Regions from separate parts of the Homo sapiens genome. Here all the other regions are linked to region 5. The links are contacts of gene promoters, found by promoter capture Hi-C in blood cells and fetal thymus (Javierre and others, 2016). All regions are on one chromosome and are shown on one strand. The core of a region is centred on a gene start or on the middle of the fragment in contact, and the rest is flanking DNA. Distances in the headings are between cores, read along the strand shown.

Region 1 (2,700 bases), core at 114-2,613, 430 kb after region 5:
CAGGAAAGTTCATAACATGCGGATTCTTGGACTCTACCTCCAGGTATATTTTGATTCTACAGGTCTGGGCTTGAGGCCTGAGTATCTGTGTTTCTAATAAGCTCTTGGGGGATGCTGCTGGCTTAGGGTCACTCTGGACTCAGACCCCAGACCCCTGCTCACCTGGACCTTCTCCAAACCTTGCACTGGAGAGAAGGTTCTTGAACCTCATCCTGGGGCAGGCACCCATTCCCTGAGAATCCCACTCTACCAGACCTCAAAATGAATAATCAGGCAATGAATAAGCAGATCCCCTCCCACCATGGCCCCAGCCTAACTGTGGAGACAGGCAAGCCTGCTCTCCATGCAGGAACAAAAATCAGTGCTAGAACAAAGGCACAGATCGAGCTGTATCTGGCAGGAGTGGTCAGAATGCCAGAGAGAGAGAGCTCAGGCAGCATTCCCAAGGCAGGTGGTAGACCCAGGGCCCCAGGGAGCGTTCAGCCAGTGGCAGGGGTTTGGGTTGAGCTGGTCTGCCCACTGGAATCAAAGTGGGCTGGGACACAGGACCAGAGTCCCAAATACAACCCTCGGGCTCTGCAAGCCTGGCCCATGTCACGTTCACTGCGCCCGCAAGCCATGAGTCCTGCCCTCAACTTGCGCCTGTGATGCTGTCCTCATCCAGTCCCAGAGAGATGATCCACCTCGGGGCCCTGCATAAGCCCTGGCCTCTGACACTCAGCCCCCATCTCCTTTACACTGGAAATGTCTCAGGTGTCAGCCCTCTCCAGGAAGCCTCCCTGACCCCAGTCCCTTGGTCGGTGCTCCCTGACCCCAGTCCCTTGGTCGGTCCATTGCCTAGGATGGAGTGCAGTGGTGCGATCTCATCTCACTGCAACCTCCGCCTCCCAGGTCCAAGCGATCCTCCTGCCTCAGCCTTCCCCGTGGCTGGGGCTGCAGGCAGGCACCACCACGCCCTGCTAATTTGTGTATTTTTAGTAGAGATGGGGTTTCACCATGTTGGCCACGCTGGTCTCAAACTCCTGACCTCAGGTGATCCACCCGCCTCAGCCTCCCAAAGTGTTGGAATTACAGGCGTGAGCCACCGGCCCCGGCATTTGGTCAGTGCTTTGATGCATGTGTCACATCAGCCTTTGTGTCACCGTCGGGGTGGCCCTGGAGGTGCACGGCTCTGCTTTCCCTCCCAGAGTCACCCTCCACAGGAATGCAGTAGCACCTGGGGCCTGGCAGCTCCTGCCCCACCCGGGACCTTGCTAGAGCTCCCCGTGGGCCTGGAGAGGACTTTCTCACAGCTGCACTGCAGCCTGGGGCTCCTCCCACTTAACCCTCCTTCCTTCCTCTTCTCCTCTGGCAAACACAAGCCCTGCGTCACGGTTGGAAGTTGGTCCCCGCCCACCCTGCATCCTCTCCCTGTATCCTGCTTGGGCATTGCGTTTCATCAATCTCTTGCTCATTTCTTCTGTCTTGACGTCTGCCTCCCAGATGACCAAAGTGACACAGGTAACGAAATGAGTCTCTCTAATGAGTTCCCTAAAGTCCTGGGCCTCCGAGGGCTGCAGGCCCTGCCTCCTCTTACTCATCGCTGACTCCAGGCACCTGGCCTAGAGCTTCACAGGGGCTCAATAGCTTCCTGTCCTGCTCAGGCAGAGAGGGGCAGGCAGGGAGGGTCTCACACTCCAGGGAAGGGTGCTGCCTTTGCAGAGTTGAAGTGGAGTGTGTAGGGGGTGGTGGGGGAGTCCTGGGAGACCGTCAGCCACTCCTTGTGCACGTGGGAAAGGGGGACCCGGACAGGACGGGAGGACGCAGGGTGTGAACAGCATCGGACCCCACAAAGCACCCCTGGCGCACAGAGGTAAGGTCTGCTGGCTCAGGTATCACTAAAAGCCACAGAGTGGCTCACCAAGCCCAACAGGGCCCAGACCAGGCGCTCAGCTCTCACTAGGTCCGATCCCCGCCTCGCCTCTGAGCTGTAGCCCTCTGTGCAGGGGGGGCGCACTCCTGCCCATGGCAGACAGACCCCTCCACTGGGACACACGGGGCCACCACAGCCCAGCGCCCTCTTTCTCCTCCAGGCAGGGTGGACTCTCCTGGGTGGAGACTGATATGGTGAGGCTTTGCGCCTCACCCAAATCTCATCTTTTTTTTTTTTCCTTTGAGACTGAGTCTGGCTCTGTCACCCAGGCTGGTGTGATCTCGGCTCACTGCAGCCTCTGCCTCTCGGGTTCAAGCGATTCTCCTGCCACAGCCTCCCACGTAGCTGGGACTACAGGCACGCACCATCACTTCTGGCTAATTTTTGTATTTTTAGTAGAGACAAGGTTTCGCCATGTTGGCCAGGCTGGTCTCGAACTCCTGACCTCAAGTGATCTGCCCACTTCGGCCTCCCAAAGTGCTGGGATTACAGGTGTGAACCACCGCACCCGGCCCCAAATCTCATCTTGAACTGTAATCCCCATAATCTCCACTGAGTCATGGGAGAGACCAAGTGGAGGTCATTGAGTCACGGGGATAGATTTCCCCCAAGCTGTTCTCGTGAGAGTGGCTGAGTTTTCAGGAGATCTGATGGTTTTACAAGGGGCTCTTCCCGCTTCACTCAGCACTTCACCCTCCTGCCACTTTATGAAGAAGGTCCTTGCTTCCTCTTCACCTTCCATCATGATTGTAAGTTTCTTGAGGCCTCCCAGCCATGCTGAACTGTGA
Region 2 (2,700 bases), core at 136-2,635, 440 kb before region 5:
CCTACATGAGAAAAGAGGTAAGAGAGTTGTGACAAGGAGAATGGGCTGAATGTTTTGGGTTCAAAAATCTGTGACTTAGCAAGACTGTACCGCCACAGAACCCGAGTCTCAAACCTCACCAAGAAAGCCAAGAAACTTCTTCTAACTCCAAATTCATCTGCTATTTACGTCCAGGCATAAGCTTAACAGACTGCCTCTTTTAAACTACCCCTCACATGAGTCTCCCCACCCTCTCTTACCTCTATATTGAGACTTTTCCCATCAGTTGGTCTGCTTACGTATTACTCTCCCATTCAAGGCACCCAAGGCCTATCGCATTCCTGAACAGAGCCTTTCCTGACACACAACACGTACATTGCTCCAGGAAAGTTCCGTACAATCAAATTCATGCCTATCAATAAGTAGGACCATGTGTACTGAATATCCATACATGCTTCCTCATGTTAATGAGGGTCATTCATCTGGTAGAAAACCAGTCTCCACTGATGACGTACAATTTGCTATTTGTTTGTTTGGTTCTTTGCTTGCAAAAATTCCTTTCTAACATATTTCTCTGTGGGTTTCTTTTCCAATAACCGATCCATTCGACCTCTATCCAAAAGGACACTGACCTTGTAGGAAAGGAAAAACTTTCCTCCACCCTCTTTGGTTCTGTGACTGGGTCTGTGAAATAAACTGACAACAGGCAGACAAACAGGGAATAAAAAGTATATAATTTTATTTGGTGTTAAAAGTTTTACACAGAAAGGGGTGGGAGGAGGACTTCATAAGAATGGCTGTGCTTGGAAGCTTTTATACTATTTGGAAAAAAGACAAAAATGCTAAAGAGAAGTGACATGGCAAAGGAAATGGACTTTGAACTTCTAGGGGTGGCAGACTGTATGAAGGCAAATATGCAAATGTCGGGAGAAACTGATGGGAGATGATGGCTGGCTCCTAGGGCTGGTTTGTGTAAGCCCTTTCTGGTGTCCTCTCATCTCCAGTAATGAGGCTGTTACTCCTTTTCTGGGAAATTCTCCTTACCGGAAGTAGAGCTGGGAGGAACACGTTCACAAGGAAAATTTTATGTTTCAGGCAGACGGGAAAAGGCAGAGAGCTCATCTTGTGTCTTTTTCTTAACTGTTTTCAGCTCAATGTAATCTGTATGCCAGAGTGGTGTGTTTTGGGGTAACATAATCTGATCTCTTACAGCCCTTTATGTCATGAACTTTGCCAGAGATACGGAAAACATTGGGGAGGAAAGGGAAGAAAGAAGGGCAAAGAAATGGGGGTAAAAAAAAAAAGAGGAACAGAGAATTTAATACAACCAGATGTATGAAAACAAAATTTAAACTGCTCCCCCCCCAAATTTGTGCTCTGTCTTTTCTATTTTAAGCGCTAATTCTAAAATCAGTTTAAAAATACAGCATATATATATATATATATATATATATGCACACTACAATATGGGAACACAAATTGCCACTCAAAAAAATAGACAGGGTATTGGGCTTATGGTCAAGATACCTGGATATTGCTTTTGATTCTCTAAGTGCACATATATGAGCATCCAAAGATAGGTCCACACACACGTATATACACACAAGCATCTATGTGTGTGTGTGTGAATGTGTGTGTTTATGTGGAAAAGTCATTTACTACTTGTTCTTTGGTTTGCACAGGAGTGAAACTGAAACAATCAAGTACGTCCATCCCAATAGTTCCTGTCTTTCTTTGAAGAGTCAGTGATATGGAGACATGGGATAAATGGGATTGTAAATGTAAATGATACACTCCTAGCTTAAAGGCTTTATGCAATTTACATAAATCTGCATGCTGAGTTCAAAAAGCACAAATCTGTAGTATTAAAGTTAATTAGGGCAAACTACTATTTAATATGAATCCAATATTCAAGAATAACACAGATAAAATACATACACAACAGTTTTAAAAATCAATTGTTTTAATCATGCTCTGATTAGGACAGCTAAAATAAGCTTCACACAGATATGGCATGGCCAGTGGGGTGCACGATTCCCACACAAGGAGACCACTGCAGGATCACAGAGCAAAGATGAAGAGCATCCCCTGGGAGCTGGGAGAACAGGGGGCTGGGGATTCCTGCTTAGTGTGCCAGTGAGGGAGGTGGGCTGACAGGGCCTTCCTAAAGTTTTGGTTACTCCAAAAATTGGCTGGAAAAACTCAAAACACACTGGCCAGTCCCATGGTTAGAGGGAAAGACTGTCCCAGCAAGCTCTCTGACATATTTCTTAGCACTTCAGAGAGTGCTCAGCACATCCACTTGGTATACAGGAGGTGGCAGGATGGAATTTTCAAGGAGATGTGGCCAAGGAAGCCAAGTTTTCTATAATCCACAGACACCACATTCCATGAGGCTCCAGAGGGAGGCAACAGGTAGATTAATCACAAGGATAGGTCCCTGATAGCCTTTCTATACAAAGTGACCCTTCCCTGTGTCCACACCTGATGAACTACAGAATGTTTCTATGGTTGCTATGAACCACAAAATGTCATCTGAGAAAAGAAGGACCTCAGGAATGGCAGAATAAAAGTCTCTGAAAATCATCTCCTTCATAAAATCAATGAGAACATGGACAAAAATTGTGAAATCAACATTTTTGGAACTCTAAAAATTAATCAAAGGCTTGCAACAATCTAAGTACTGTTTATTCAAGAAAAACAGACGAATCTTGTTAAGAA
Region 3 (2,700 bases), core at 169-2,668, 460 kb after region 5:
ACATGTAGAAGAATAAAACTGGATCCTCGTCTCTCACGTTATACAAAAATCAACTCAGGATAGATCAAAGACTTAAATCTACAACCTGAAACCATAAACATTCTAGAAGATAACATCGGAAACATCCTTCTAGACGTTGGCTTAGGCAAAGACTTTGTGACCAAGAACCCAAAAGCAAATGCAACAAAAACAAAGATAAATAGATGGGACTTAATTAAACTAAAAAGCTTCGGCACTGCAAAAGAAATAATCAGCAGAGTTAACAGACACCGCACAGAGATTGGACTTTGGGGACTCAGGGTAAAAGGTGGGGGGTGGCGAGAGATAAAAGACTACACACTGGGCCAGGCGCGGCGGCTCACGCCTTTAATCTTAAGGGATACCTGAGCTCCTTCTAGGAGGTTCTGATTCAGTAGATCTGGGAGAGTCAAGAATCTGTAATCAGCTGATCTCTATCAAGAGCTGATTTTGGGCTAGCTCACGTGCTAAGTGTTTGGTAAGTTCATGTTCTCAGTTTATATCTTCATGACGATTTGAGCAATGTCAAGCCATAACCAATGTCGTCAATGACACCCCCGTTTTACAGATGAGGAAACGGAAGCTAAGAACATCCAAAAGGGTTTGTTGGGGGGGGTGGGGAAAGCTGCTAAAAAAAGTTATGCAACTAGTACACCTAGTAACTGGTCGACTGGAGATTCCAACTCAGGCCCAGCAACTCCAGACCCCACTCTCTCAATCACTGTGAGACATAAGACTTTTGGGGGAGCTTCTGGTGATTTTAGTGATTAGTCAGCTTTTCGCAAAGCCTCCTAGAAGCCCATGCCACTCTCAAAGGGTGCATGTGTTTGAAATTTATGGCCCATCCCCCTCCAGTGTTTCTGGAAGGAAAATAGTGTAGAAACAAGATCATCGGAGGGAATACGACGAGCAGCTGAACCTCTTATCAGCATTTCCCAGCCTTTGGGCTACTCCGCGAGGTCCTGGTCTCACAGGCGGACCCAATCTGGGAACCAAGGGAGAATCTTTCTGTACACCTGGCACTTCTCGTCACGCCCCGTCCCCCGAACACCCAATCCAAAGCCCGTTGGGCACGTCTGATGTCCACTCAGAGCAATTATAATTGGCCATGGCGGACGATCGCTCCGCCTCCCGGGCGACCCCGCCTCCCTTTCATTCTGAAAGAAAGAACCTCAGCCTGGGCGTCCAATGAGAAGCGCCTTCACCTCAAAGATCCCGCCTCTTTCGGCGTCGACCCCGCCCCGAGGCCGGAAGGGATGCCCGCCTCCCTTGGCGAGATGAGCCAATCGAAGGGCTCTCACGGCCAGATGGACGGCAGCCGGCCCAATCCGCCGGGCCTCACGCGGCGCCGCCCGCCCCTCCGCCGGGCCCGAGTGGCGGCCGGGCGACGAGTGCGGGCCTCGGAGCGACTGCAGCGGCGGCGGCGGACGCGGCCTGAGGCGAGCGGCGGGGCGTGGGGCGGTGCCTCGGCCCGGGCTCGCCCTCGCCGGCGGGAGCGTCCATGGCCCCCGGGCGCCGGCGGGGCGCGGCCGCGGCCTGAGGGGCCATGTCCGGGGTGGTGCGGACCCTCAGCCGCTGCCTGCTGCCGGCCGAGGCCGGCGGGGCCCGCGAGCGCAGGGCGGGCAGCGGCGCGCGCGACGCGGAGCGCGAGGCCCGGAGGCGTAGCCGCGACATCGACGCGCTGCTGGCCCGCGAGCGGCGCGCGGTCCGGCGCCTGGTGAAGATCCTGCTGCTGGGCGCGGGCGAGAGCGGCAAGTCCACGTTCCTCAAGCAGATGCGCATCATCCACGGCCGCGAGTTCGACCAGAAGGCGCTGCTGGAGTTCCGCGACACCATCTTCGACAACATCCTCAAGGTGACGCGCGCCCCCCGCCCAGCACCTGCACCCAGGTGGGCCGGGGCGCTAACCCCCGCCCCGGGCCCCTCCGTGGTCCGCCGCCGCGGGCGGGGACCCCTGGGGCGAGGATGCTGGATCCAGCCCCGCCTGCACCCCACTCCCCCCCGACCCATTCCCCGAGGCCTGCTGGCGTCGTCTCTGCCCCACCCCGTCTCGCCCTTTTTGAGATGGGGTCTCGCTGTGTTTCCCAGGCTTGAGTGCAGTGGCGCCCTCACAGCTCACTGCAGCCTCGACCTCCCAGGCTCAAGCCCTACTCCCTCCTTAGCCTCCCGAAGTAGTGGGATTACAGGCGCGCACCACCAGCCCAGCTAATTTTTAAGTTTTTTTTTGTAGAGATGGGGTCTTGCTGTGTTGCCCAGGCTGGTCTCAGTCTCCTGGCCTCAAGTGATCCTCCTGCCTTGGTCTCCCTCAAGTGCTGGGATTATAGGCATGAGTCATGGCGCCCGGTCTGCCTCTGCCCTCTCTAGGGTGCCTGGGGACCGTGGGAGTGGGAACTCGGGCCAGCTTCTGGGGATGGGGAGTGGGGGCTTGGCACTTAGCCCCCTCCTGGATGTGCCCTAGCAGAATGGTATCTGTCCATTTCCCACTGGAAGATTTGTGGGATAGGAGCCCAACCGGCCGTGCCCTCCGGCTGAGCTTAGAAGAAGAGCAGTGGAGACTGGACGGGAACCAGCCATGAGTCTCTTTTTACTTTTCTGTTTTTTTAGAAAGGCTCTCACTCTCTTGCCCAGGCTGGTCTCAAGCCATCCTCCCACCTGGGCCTCCCAAAGTGCTGAGATTACAGG
Region 4 (2,700 bases), core at 142-2,641, 370 kb before region 5:
GGGGTAAGTCTATACCAAGGCATCTCACAGTGAATGTTAATAAACTCATGTAATAACAGGCCGGCGGGGCCTATGGTATGTACTTTTATTTTTCCATGTTTAAACATTGATTATAAATGATTATGAGTTTTAAGGTTCTCACATAAGCTGATAAACAACTAGGAATAGAGAGTATACTAAAAGGAAGAGCCAGTCAACAAAAACCTTCCAGGAAAAGACTCTTTCAGGAAATGAATGCTTTTATTTCCCCTTTTGTCTCTATTGACACTGTCTAGCTCTCCGATCTTTCCGTCCAATGAATGATTCTGTTGATCATGAACCGCCCCCATGGGATTTGTTCCTGCAATGCTTCATTCTGGATTTACACTTCCATTCTATCAAGTGTAGTCAATATCCTGTCTGTAGGATGAGAGTATTGCAGATAAAAATCAATTCCCTTTGGAACTCATTTTCGGAAAAGCTTGGTGCATCACTGAAATTGAGGAACCGCTGCCTTACAAATTGGTCAAATGCTACAAGGAAGTATCTTCATACTTTAAGTATTTATTTACTATCAGCAAGAGCTGCTTCATAGCTAAAAGAAGTAAAGCAAAGATGCTTATTTAAAAAAAATAGAAAAAAGGAATAAAAGAGGAAGTAATATTAAAAGATGCATCTAGAAAAAGTTTAACCATTTCAAGAGTTAGAATAGAGCTTTTACCCAAAGATCACTCCAAACCCTCAAGGGTGGGGATGGGGCCCTCATTGTAGGTGCCTATTTTGGCAAAAGTGTGATCTGTGCATACTTAGAGCTTTCTGTATTTTTTATATATATATATATATATATATATATATATATATAAAATTATATATTATAAAAATATATATTACATTTTTATTTAATATAAATTTAATTTTTATTTAATATAAATTTTATTTAATAACAAATTTATATATAAATTTAATATTTATTTAATATATATTTAATATATATTATTATATATTATATTATATAAATATATATATTATATATATATATTTCTCCACATCATCTCCTTTATCGATCTCACTCTGGGATCTATAAATAGATTGCTTTTGGACTTATTTAGGTACTGGTTTCCAGCTCATCTTTCTTCTTTGCCTGTATGTCCTATCTCTTTTGGCTAATGCCTCTGTTTTTTTCCTCAAGAGTTTGCAGTAGAAGTATAAACACAGCTTTCATCTTTCATGTTGGCTTACCTCCAGTAACGGCAAGAAACAGAGAGACACTTCAAGAACTTGGGGGTGCAGTAGGGTAGATGAGCTGCTTGCTGTGATAGAATAACGTGTGATGGGTATTCACAATAACTGGGCACTACAGAAACAGGATGGGTATGGAAGCCACTCTGAGGATGTTTTCATTCTCACCAGCAGCATCGGCTGCCTCCCTACAATTCTCCCTGCCCTCATTCCTATAGTCCTTCAGGTTAGACCAATGGTCACCACACCATGACCCGCCACTCCTCAGAGTTACCAGGAAAACTCCTCCAAGACCTCAGGAGACCCTGTGTCCCATATCATGGATAAGCCCTCCCAGAGGCCGCCAGGACTTCAGAGCAGCTATGCCTCAGGGTCCATGTGTTCCTGCTTTTAGCTCCAAGCAACTACTGTGTAGGCATGGATCAGTTGTAAAGGGATAAGTCAAGTTCAGCTGATTCCTCCACATTATAAACACAAACAATAAGCAAGCAAGCAAACAAAAACCTGCCCAATCTCACAGACATATTACATAAGAAGGAAAAAACTATAAAATGGTTTCAAAGATTTCCCACTGGCGTTATAATTTCACTTCCTGCTCTTAATTTCTTTTTAATCTCATTATAAAACTCACCAAAAAATGCATTAGGTTTTTCATGAGACTGTCTCAGGGATTATTTTGTACTGAATGACAACATCTACAATGAAAAGTGTTTGATTAGTTAACTTCCTGGAGAAACACAAGTTTATTTTAAACACTCTTCACTTGGATTTTTTTCTATTGACTCAGTCTTAAACTTGTAAATAGGTATAACAGCAATGATATGATCATACAGACTACACATTTGTCTCAGCTATATTGAGAAAGAAGGGATAACATCAGAGCTTACAAATTAGGAATCATAATAACAAAAAGGGTAATGACCAGAGCTTCATTCAATGAGCAACAAAGTATTTTACTCTGTCTTTGGGGAGATGTACATTGATTCCATTTCCTTCTTAAATTTGTGACTATAAATATTTAAAAATTGGTTTAAAAAATGTCCCTGATGGGCTAGACTCACACAATGTAGAGGCCGATGGAATTCTAGAGAACATTAAGCTTAATTTTCTGAATTTACAAGATGAAGAAATGAAGAGACAGTGAGAGGAAGTGACTTGACATTTAAAGTCAGAAACAGACACGAAGTCCAAACCAGATCCTGTTCAGTGTTTCTTGTCTCCTCTAAATATACTGAGTAATGACTTGGATAAGACCAATGCTGAAAACTCAGGGGTAAGGCAAGACACCCCCCGCCTTGAGGTCCCAGTCCTCCAAGGGCCTAGAGCCCAATAGGAGAAACAAACCTCAAGGAACTAGTTATGCAATGAACTGTTTTAACTGTAATCGTGGTAACTATGGCAAAAAAAAGTTACAGGATGTGCTGTAAGAACAAATAATAGACGACCTGTCCTTGTAGGAATCAAAGAAGGTTTCCTAAAAAA
Region 5 (2,700 bases), core at 97-2,596:
ATTTGGGAAGGAAAGCTCGTTTCACAAGAGATCCCATCTCTCGTTTCAAAAGGTCATTTCCATTCAGCAGATCCTCTTTCCCTATTTCAGAGCTCACCACTGTATTCTAAACAGAAGCCAATAGAGGGAGAAAAACAAAGCCAAGTGCAAAAGCTGTGGGCACTGAAAGTTTTGCTCCACCGGCCGCGCAGCACCCACTTGGGGTCGGGCTTTGGGACTTGGGGGAGTCAGGAGCAGGCGGGGGCTGGGGAGAGGACGAGGCCCTGGGGAGGGGCTGGAAAAGGCTTTTCACAGCGACTGGCACTTGATATTTCCAAGTCTTCTGGATGTCACTCACCGGAAACCAGACCCTGCGGTGCGAAGACTCAGGTACAGACCAGCCCCTTTTTCATCCATGCAATGGGAAGGGGACTCGGGCATCCTTTTAAGGAGCTGAGAAATGGGTCCTCAACTTAAAAATTTTTGTTTGTGCTACTGCGGTATAAAAAAAATAAAACGCAAAGTAGCAGACGGGGTGCAGGCTCTACGGGGCTCCGTTTCCCTCTCCTCCGAGTCTGGCGTGGAGGAGCCCCTGGGCTCCCTAGAGCCCCCAGCAAGGCGCATCCCGACCCGGGCCGGGAAGCGGGGGGACCCCGGACACACTCTCGCTGCTCAAGTTCGCGCCTCCGCGCCCCGAGGCGACGCCCCCGGCCCGCGACCCCGCGCGCACCTACCTTGCGCCAGCGCCCGGAGCAAGTGCAGCTGCAGCGCCAGCAGCGCCCACCAGCCGCGGCGGCCCGGCCCCAACTTTGCCGCCCGCCGCCCGCCGCACCGCCCCGCGCCCGCCGTGTCCCCGCCGGAGGTCTCGGGCGCCGCCCGGGGTCGCGAGGGCTCCGGGCCGGGGCGCGGCGCCAGCGAGGGGCGGGCGCGGCCGGGCGGGGATCCCCGCGGCCGCCCGGGGCCCGCGCGCTCAGGGGGCTCCGCGCCGCCGCCGCCGCCACCGGCCGCCGAGGGCCGGGCGCCCCGGGCCATGCCGAGCAGCCGCCACCCCGAGCGCCGCGCCGGACGGACGGGCGGGCAGGACAGGCGGGACGGCTCCGAGCGGGCGCGGCCACTCCGCGGGAGGCGCGGCGCCCCCCGGCCCGAGGTGAGCGGCCGCCCAGCGCTGAGGGGCGGCGTCCTGGGTCCCCGCGTGAGGGGCGCGGCGCGGGCCGGGGACGAGCCGGGCGAGAAGAAGTTGTCAACGGGGGAAATTCGCGTCCGGCGCTCACGCAGTCCCGAGCCCGCCGCGCTAGCTCCGAGGGGTCCGCCGGGCGCGGAGGAGCCGCCGCCGCCGCCGCCCCCGCCCGGCGCTGAGAAGAAAGTGCGCCCGCCCGCACGTCGCGGTCGCGCTCGCCCTCAGCTGCCGCGGCCGCCGCTCCCCATTCACAGCCCGGCCGCACGCGCCGCCCGCGCCCGCCGCCCGCCGCCCGCCGTTGATTGGCCGAGGGAGGCGGCGCCCGCTCCCAGGGCCCGCCCCCCAGGCCCTCGCTTGTTTTCAAAGTCGCGGCGCCCGCCCGCCTGCAATTTTGTGCCGGCCGCGGCGCCTGGCTCGGGCGGCTTCCCGCGCCGGCTGCGCCCCCTAGGGACCCGTAGTGGGGACTGCAGGCGGCGTCGATTCGGCACGCGCTCCCGTGGCGGGCTCGCGGGCGGGGGTGGTGCATCCTCGCCCGGCCCCGCAGCGGTGCGGGCGCCCGAGTGGGAAGGGCTCAGGTGCAGCAGGACGCGCAGATCGTGCGGCAGCCCAGGGCCGAGGGCGGAATAGGGCGCGCCCCGAGAGGCGCCCGGCTACCACCAGCTAGCTCAGTGCTTGGGGGTGACGCGCCAAGTTACCGTAATTGCAAACACGCGCAATCGGGTTTTTAATTTCTAGCAACCAAAGGCACCACTGGGTGCAAACTCGCCTCCTGTTCAGAGGAGTGGATATGGCATTGTAGAAGCGTCCAAGGTCACTTTTGGCCGGCGCTGGAGGAGGGCGGGGTAGGGAGGGACACATTGCAGGTTTCCCACCGTGGAGTGGGCGAGTCTTGGGGCAGGGTCGGCCAGTGGGAGGGTCTCCCAGGGCGGGACCCGGGAGCCTGTGGGGCTGGGGGTGGGGACGGGCGCCGACGCTCAGCATGTGGTAAGCATTAGCAGAGTTTATGGGGTGAACTAAGCGCACTGGAGGCTGAAAGGCCAGCATTTTTGTGGGAGGAGAGCTGGAGGTGACACGCACTGCCTCTGGAGTTGGCCCGGGAGGAGCCTGGGGACGTGTGATGATGGTCGCATGAGATCATGTAAGAGATGAACGCAGAGGGGCTGGGTGTGAGCCCAGCACGGGGCTGACTCCCCAGGAATCACCTGATGCAGTAGGTTTATTGTCCCAGCCAAGAAAGACCCCGGGCGAGTGGAGAGCAGGTCACAGGGCTGGGGTCTGGGATAGGAGCCAGCTCCTGCTCACAGAGCGCCTATGGTATTTGTCAAATAACTGATTGGTGGCTCAATATTAGCCTCTGTACACGTCCCCTAAGACTTAACAATGACCACGTGAACAAAACAGGGAAACTGAGGTCCAAGTACAGCCGCCGAACAGGAGGTGGTTTCAGAAAGAGGCCTCCCATCTGCCCCCTTTCCACACCATGCTAGGAGGGGCAAAAAAGTTAAAGGAGCCACGGAGTGCCCTGTTCTGAGGATATAGTGAGG
Region 6 (2,700 bases), core at 13-2,512, 410 kb before region 5:
GTTTGATTTTTCCTTTTTCTTTTTTTTTTTTCTTTTTTTTTGGTGAGACAGGGTCTCACTTTGTCACCCAGGCTGAAGTGCAATGGCGCCGTAATAGCTCACTGCAGCACTGACCTCCTGGGCTCAAGCAGTTCTCCACCTCAGCCTCCTGAGTAGCTGGGACTACAGGGGTGTGCACCACGCCTGGCTAATTTTTTGATTTGTTTGTAGCAATGGGGTCTCACTACCTTGCCCAGGCTGGCCTCAAATTCCTGGCCTCAAGCAATCCTCCCTCATCAATGTCCCTCAAAGTGGTGGGATTACAGGTCTGATATTACACGTGATAACACGTGGCCTCCCCTCATACTTGAATGATATTTTTGCCAAATACAGAATTCATGGTTGACAGATTTTTTTCAGAGTTCTAATTTTTCCTTAGCTTTCAGAAATTACTTATTTTCAACACAGAAGTTTAAGTGTCTTCAAATTGATTTCTTAGGGTCTATTGTGATTCATTCAGCTTCTTGAATCTGTAGGCTTGTGGAGTTTTTTTTTTCCCCCAATTTAGAAAGCTTTCACCTATTATTTCTTTGAATGCTTTTTCAGTCCCAATTTTCTTTCTCATCTCCTACTAGAACTCCAATAAAATTAAAGTTAGATCTTTGGTTACAGCCTCACAGGAGCCTCTGTTCATTTTTTTTTTTTTTTTGTCTACCTTTTTCATTGTTGGTCAGACTGAGCAAATTCTATTGATCTATCCTCATATTCACCGATCTATCTTTGTCTTCTCCACTTTATTACTGAGCTAATCCTGCTAGTTTTTAATTCTGGTTATGGAATGTTTCAATTCACTCACTTTCACTTTTTAAATAATTTCTTCTTCTTTGCTGAGATTTTTCTATTTCTTCATTTGTTCAAGGAGAATGAATAGTTTGCTGCTGACGCCCTTTTATGATGGCTGCTTTAAAATCCTTGTCTGGTAATTGCAACAGCTGACTCACTTCAATTTTGGCCTCAGTTGATTGTGTCTTCTCATTCAAGTTGTGATTTTTCCTTGTTCTTTGTATGTTCAGTAATTTTCCATTCTCTGTGGACGTTTTCGATATTATGTTAAGACTCCTTGTCCTATTTAAATCTTTTATTTTAGATGGCAGTTGCCTGATGGGTTTAGGGTATAGGACTTTGCCTACTTTTTTGGGCTGTAGTTCCAATGATAATGTGTTTTTCAGAGCTGTCCTGGTCTCCTTTGTTCTGTAGGGTCTGGGGATCCTTCTCTATCCCTGCTATTGCCTCCTGTGGGACAGAACGCACTTCCCTGGGCTTCCCTGCATCACCAGGTAGAAGGTGAGGGGTGTCTGGTTCGGTAGGCTGAGAGGATATCTTTGGGCTATCAGTTGCTGGTGGCTCTGTCAGTCTTGACTAGTGCCACCTGAGGAGGGAAGAACCTACGTAGCCTACCTTCTCCCACTGTAAACGGATCGGAAAATGCTGGGTCAAATATATTTTGATTTAATAAAATTTCTGGTAAGTGGATACATACATGAATTTATATATAGTCTGCAGCTCATCTGCAAAAAGTAAAATAAAACCTTAAATTTACAATTACATTTGTACAATTTATGACGATCTAGTATATTTGTGAACAGGGTGATTTAGTATCTCTCACTAAATAAGCTAATTATATGTGCAATTATTTTGGAATATAGTGAACAATAAGGACAATTACAACCTTAGCATTTAACAGATTTTAAGCCATCATTGGAGAAGCTGAGGCATCTGAGAGATGAGTATTCTCTCTACTTGATTCTTCATTTATTTTTTACTTAATTGAGTTTTAATGCTACATAATATTGAATCACAACTTAAAATATGAGAATTACCATCAATCTAAGCCCACATTGCATTCTCTCAAAGCACATTTTAAAATCTAAAAATTGGTGTCATTTATTAATTTCATTGTAATTTGCACTTAATTAGAACCTCTCCAAGCTTGACACTTACACACAAAATGACTCATTCTGGCACAAGTGGGAAATGAACCGTCCTACAAAAGCAAATCTCCCAGATACTTGACACTCAACGCTTCAAGCATGGAAACTTGTTTTAGAAGCACTTTTGAGAGAAAATAAGTGTCTTGAAATTAATTACACAGCAGTTCTGTACCTGCTTCAATAAAGTGTATTAAACGACATTTAAACTTTGAAGGCCTCAGGACCATTTTCAGATGTTGTGTACTGTGTTACAATGTAGTAATGCTAATATCACCACTTACATAAGATGTAACAAAATGCAAAGCACTTAAAGGACTGATGTGAAATGAGCAAATGGGATAAACTTATTATTCTTAATTTAAGAGGAAACTGAGACTCTGGAAGGGCGAATAACTAGTTCATATTTAAACAGGTAATTGACAGGTTGAAAAGAGAGTAAAAAAGATAATAACATCCCTATGGTACTTCTATCATTCTAAAGCTCCTTTCACAAATATTTAATTCTAAGAATAGTAATGATTTTCCTTCATATTTTACAATAAGGAAGTTCAGAGATTTTAAGCAACGGGTCTGGCTACACAAGGAGTGATCAAGGCCTCTACCTCCTGGTCTATCTGCAGCCTCTGAGTTTTTCCCGTCCCTCTGAGTCTAAGTCCAGAGCTCTTTCTGTTGCCCTGGATGTGCACCATGGCGTCAACGTGTTGTTGTTTTGAATTCCTGGCTCCATACT
Region 7 (2,700 bases), core at 30-2,529, 390 kb before region 5:
ATATAATATGGCATCTAAAATTTTATTATATGTCTAAAATATGTTCATTTATTTTGTAAAAAAGGCTATCATCTCAACAGAAAACTGGCAAATATTACAGGTACACACGTGAAATACTACTGGATGATATATAAATGAAAATATTAAATTACCAAGATGCTACCTTTATCTATCATATTAATATATAATTAAAATAGAAATGTATTTGCCAGTGCAATACTCGATGGTGCCAAGGATACGTAAACTCGACACAAATACCACTTGAAGGCATGTATAAATCGATGCGATTCTAGAATACAGGGGAATGTTTCATATTGTATATTACATTGAATAGATCAAAGAGTATAAATATTCTATAATGTTTCATAAAATATATGAATCACCTCAAAAATATTTATACCCTTTGACCAAGTAATTCCAATTCTAGATTATCTAGTAGACTAAATAAAACATGTAGCCAAGAGTTTATATTTTTATCACATCAGTTTAAATAAGCACAAAAATTGAAGGACATAACTGAAATGTACCCAAATAAACAAATAATTTATGCTACATAACTAAAATACAAATTATTCAACAAGCTTAAAATATGTTATTGAAAAATATGTAATATAAGAAATCCTCTCTGTTTAATGATCATTTAAAGAGAATAGCAAAACTAACTATATAGTATGATCCCAAATTCTAAATACACATGGGCACAGGTGCACACACACAGACACACACATATACACACTAAAGAAAAGTGCAAGAAAAAGCATTTTAAATAGTAACAAGTTATTTTGGGCTGGTGGGATATCTTAGGTTACTTTTTCCTGATTTATTCCTATTTTTTTCTTAGTTGTCTATAAAGTTTTAGAATCAGAAAGAATTTTTTAAGAAAAAATGGAAACTTGAAATTATGTTGGGTCTCTGAACAGAAATCATAATTACAATAAAATTATTAATATAAGTATTTACTTAATGTCTGTCTTCCAACTCAATTATAAGCTAAATGAGAGTAGGAAGCATAACCGTCTTGCTCACAGCTATATTCTGAGTGCCTGGTACATTGTAGGAGTTTAATGAATACTCATGAATGAGTAAGCAAAAATAAAGGGGGACAGACTGAAAGACCCAGCGGGAGGGGAGTGGAAAAGCAAGGTCATAGTGAATCCTGCAGGATAAAAGGCTCAGATAAGCTATTACCTTCTTAAAGACACCCCCATTGCCTCACATTACCTGCCTTATAATACATTTTCAACCCACGCTGTCTGAATGAGTAAGTAGATAAGCCAAGTATTAACTCTTAATTAAGGCAAAAACAAATACTACAAGCCCCCTATTTTTTAAATCTCTGACTTCTACGCATTCACACCTGAAACTAGACCTTCCAGCAAGGGGTGTGTGTTTGTGTTGGTGCTGTGCAACCAAGGTCACAAGAGGAAAAATCAATAATATCAGTTCACAATGCATCATGGTAGATAATCATATTTTTCCTTTTAAAATATCATGCCGGCAGAAAACATTTATCTTCTACTTTGTATTTTGAATATGACTGCCTCCTTATACAGATCCCTGAAAAGGGGAGAGAGTATCCTACTTTTTGAGCCATTTATAACATGCTCCAAGTCCTGTAACGGAAGCAAAGTGCTACTTGGACTCCAGTTGTTTCTTCAATGCAACTCTTTTCTTTGTATTTCCACAGCTGAAGTGGAGGGAGGGGTCCACTGTGATCCAAAATTAAGCCTGTGATTTATCTTGTACTTCGAGTAAGAGCCCTGACCTCTTCCTATCAACATAAGACATTTTCATTCTATGGCATTTTTTACTCTGTGGTAATCATAACAACTTAAGAAAATTGGAGCCTTTTTATTTCTTGCAAATCTAAAGTCCAGAATTCTCTATTGCTTTTCGTATACATTTGAATTCATGTTGAAAGGTGATTCTAAGGAATGAAACATTGGTGTAATTATCTACAATAAATTGGTAAGCTTCCTGTCAAATGATAAGAAAATGAGAAATGAGTATTTTTCTCTAATAAGTTGAAAATTTTTTCTTCCAAATAATTTTCTTTGAAGGACAAAATCAACCAGTGAGGGCAAACACACTGTCTTTGAGTAATTCTAGAAGGTCACAGAGTCCTGGAAGGAAACATTAGCCCAGTGAATGCCTATAGACATCCAGGCTATAATATGAGTGTATTTTATTTCTGAAGTGTTTTGAGACTGTCTATTATGAAAGTTCTTATATACACGCAAAGTATTACTTTTAAATTTTCTTGGATGTCTAAAGACAAGTCATATGGTTTTTATTAATATAAGGTTTATTTTGACCTTGTAGTAGAGAGTTATAATCAACTTGAAAAATATATCAGTATAATGTTACGGGGGTTAAGATTAATATGGAATCTTACAAAAGAAGACCTGCTTTCTTACTTTCTATAAACAACATTGTGTGATGTCTTCCTGGTGACTTATCTGTAAAAGCTATACTATGATCTTATAATTCAATCAATATCAGTGAGGCCACTCGACGCAAGATTTATTGGGTTTCTCTTTATCCTAAATGCCAGCAAAAGGTACAAGCTATCCAGTGGGTTTATTTTTATAATCCCTACACGAAAAATTTGAAAGAGAAACAATGTAAGGATTATAAAAGGATAAATCCCTGCCACTATCACTGAACATTAACAATAAGTCTCAAGTAAATTATTATACT

Evidence for each region. Contacts are between HindIII fragments. The CHiCAGO score rates a contact against its expected background, and 5 or more counts as called.
Region 1: a fragment that was not itself captured here is called in contact with the fragment with the promoter of SDK1 in region 5 in 1 of 17 cell types (fetal thymus); the score reaches 5.0 in fetal thymus.
Region 2: a fragment that was not itself captured here is called in contact with the fragment with the promoter of SDK1 in region 5 in 1 of 17 cell types (activated CD4 T cells); the score reaches 5.1 in activated CD4 T cells.
Region 3: a contact is called between the fragment with the promoter of GNA12 here and the fragment with the promoter of SDK1 in region 5, in 1 of 17 cell types (fetal thymus). The highest score is 5.8, in fetal thymus.
Region 4: a contact is called between a fragment that was not itself captured here and the fragment with the promoter of SDK1 in region 5, in 5 of 17 cell types (non-activated CD4 T cells, total CD8 T cells, activated CD4 T cells and 2 more). The highest score is 10.3, in non-activated CD4 T cells.
Region 6: a contact is called between a fragment that was not itself captured here and the fragment with the promoter of SDK1 in region 5, in 1 of 17 cell types (activated CD4 T cells). The highest score is 5.2, in activated CD4 T cells.
Region 7: a contact is called between a fragment that was not itself captured here and the fragment with the promoter of SDK1 in region 5, in 1 of 17 cell types (activated CD4 T cells). The highest score is 5.6, in activated CD4 T cells.

What each region holds. Positions count from the first base shown.
Region 1 is chr7:2,869,424-2,872,123 of GRCh38, reverse strand. No RefSeq gene overlaps it. Among named protein-coding and RNA genes, the nearest start is that of GNA12, 26 kb to the right of the region's middle. RefSeq lists an enhancer at 1-500 and silencers at 1,307-1,526, 2,474-2,678. The HindIII fragment of the contact is 7,417 bases long and covers 1-2,700 here.
Region 2 is chr7:3,740,721-3,743,420 of GRCh38, reverse strand. All of the region lies in intron 4 of SDK1 (sidekick cell adhesion molecule 1), which reads right to left. Among named protein-coding and RNA genes, the nearest start is that of SDK1-AS1, 390 kb to the right of the region's middle. The HindIII fragment of the contact is 1,187 bases long and covers 792-1,978 here.
Region 3 is chr7:2,843,026-2,845,725 of GRCh38, reverse strand. It overlaps GNA12 (G protein subunit alpha 12), which reads left to right and starts at 1,418. Exons shown (of 4, transcript NM_007353.3): 1 at 1,418-1,873. The coding sequence starts at 1,565. RefSeq lists enhancers at 925-1,054, 1,037-1,331, 1,294-2,111 and silencers at 1,225-1,554, 1,895-1,944. The HindIII fragment of the contact is 20,086 bases long and covers 230-2,700 here.
Region 4 is chr7:3,670,901-3,673,600 of GRCh38, reverse strand. All of the region lies in intron 4 of SDK1 (sidekick cell adhesion molecule 1), which reads right to left. Among named protein-coding and RNA genes, the nearest start is that of SDK1-AS1, 320 kb to the right of the region's middle. The HindIII fragment of the contact is 1,857 bases long and covers 463-2,319 here.
Region 5 is chr7:3,299,898-3,302,597 of GRCh38, reverse strand. It overlaps SDK1 (sidekick cell adhesion molecule 1), which reads right to left and starts at 1,346. Exons shown (of 45, transcript NM_152744.4): 1 at 714-1,346. The coding sequence starts at 1,011. It overlaps SDK1-AS1 (SDK1 antisense RNA 1), which reads left to right. Exons shown (of 3, transcript XR_001744897.3): 1 at 1-369. RefSeq lists enhancers at 545-1,045, 1,755-2,266, 2,267-2,700 and a silencer at 1,320-1,869. The HindIII fragment of the contact is 8,975 bases long and covers 1-2,700 here.
Region 6 is chr7:3,714,103-3,716,802 of GRCh38, reverse strand. All of the region lies in intron 4 of SDK1 (sidekick cell adhesion molecule 1), which reads right to left. Among named protein-coding and RNA genes, the nearest start is that of SDK1-AS1, 360 kb to the right of the region's middle. The HindIII fragment of the contact is 1,417 bases long and covers 554-1,970 here.
Region 7 is chr7:3,690,379-3,693,078 of GRCh38, reverse strand. The region is part of intron 4 of SDK1 (sidekick cell adhesion molecule 1); the gene reads right to left. Among named protein-coding and RNA genes, the nearest start is that of SDK1-AS1, 340 kb to the right of the region's middle. The HindIII fragment of the contact is 1,392 bases long and covers 584-1,975 here.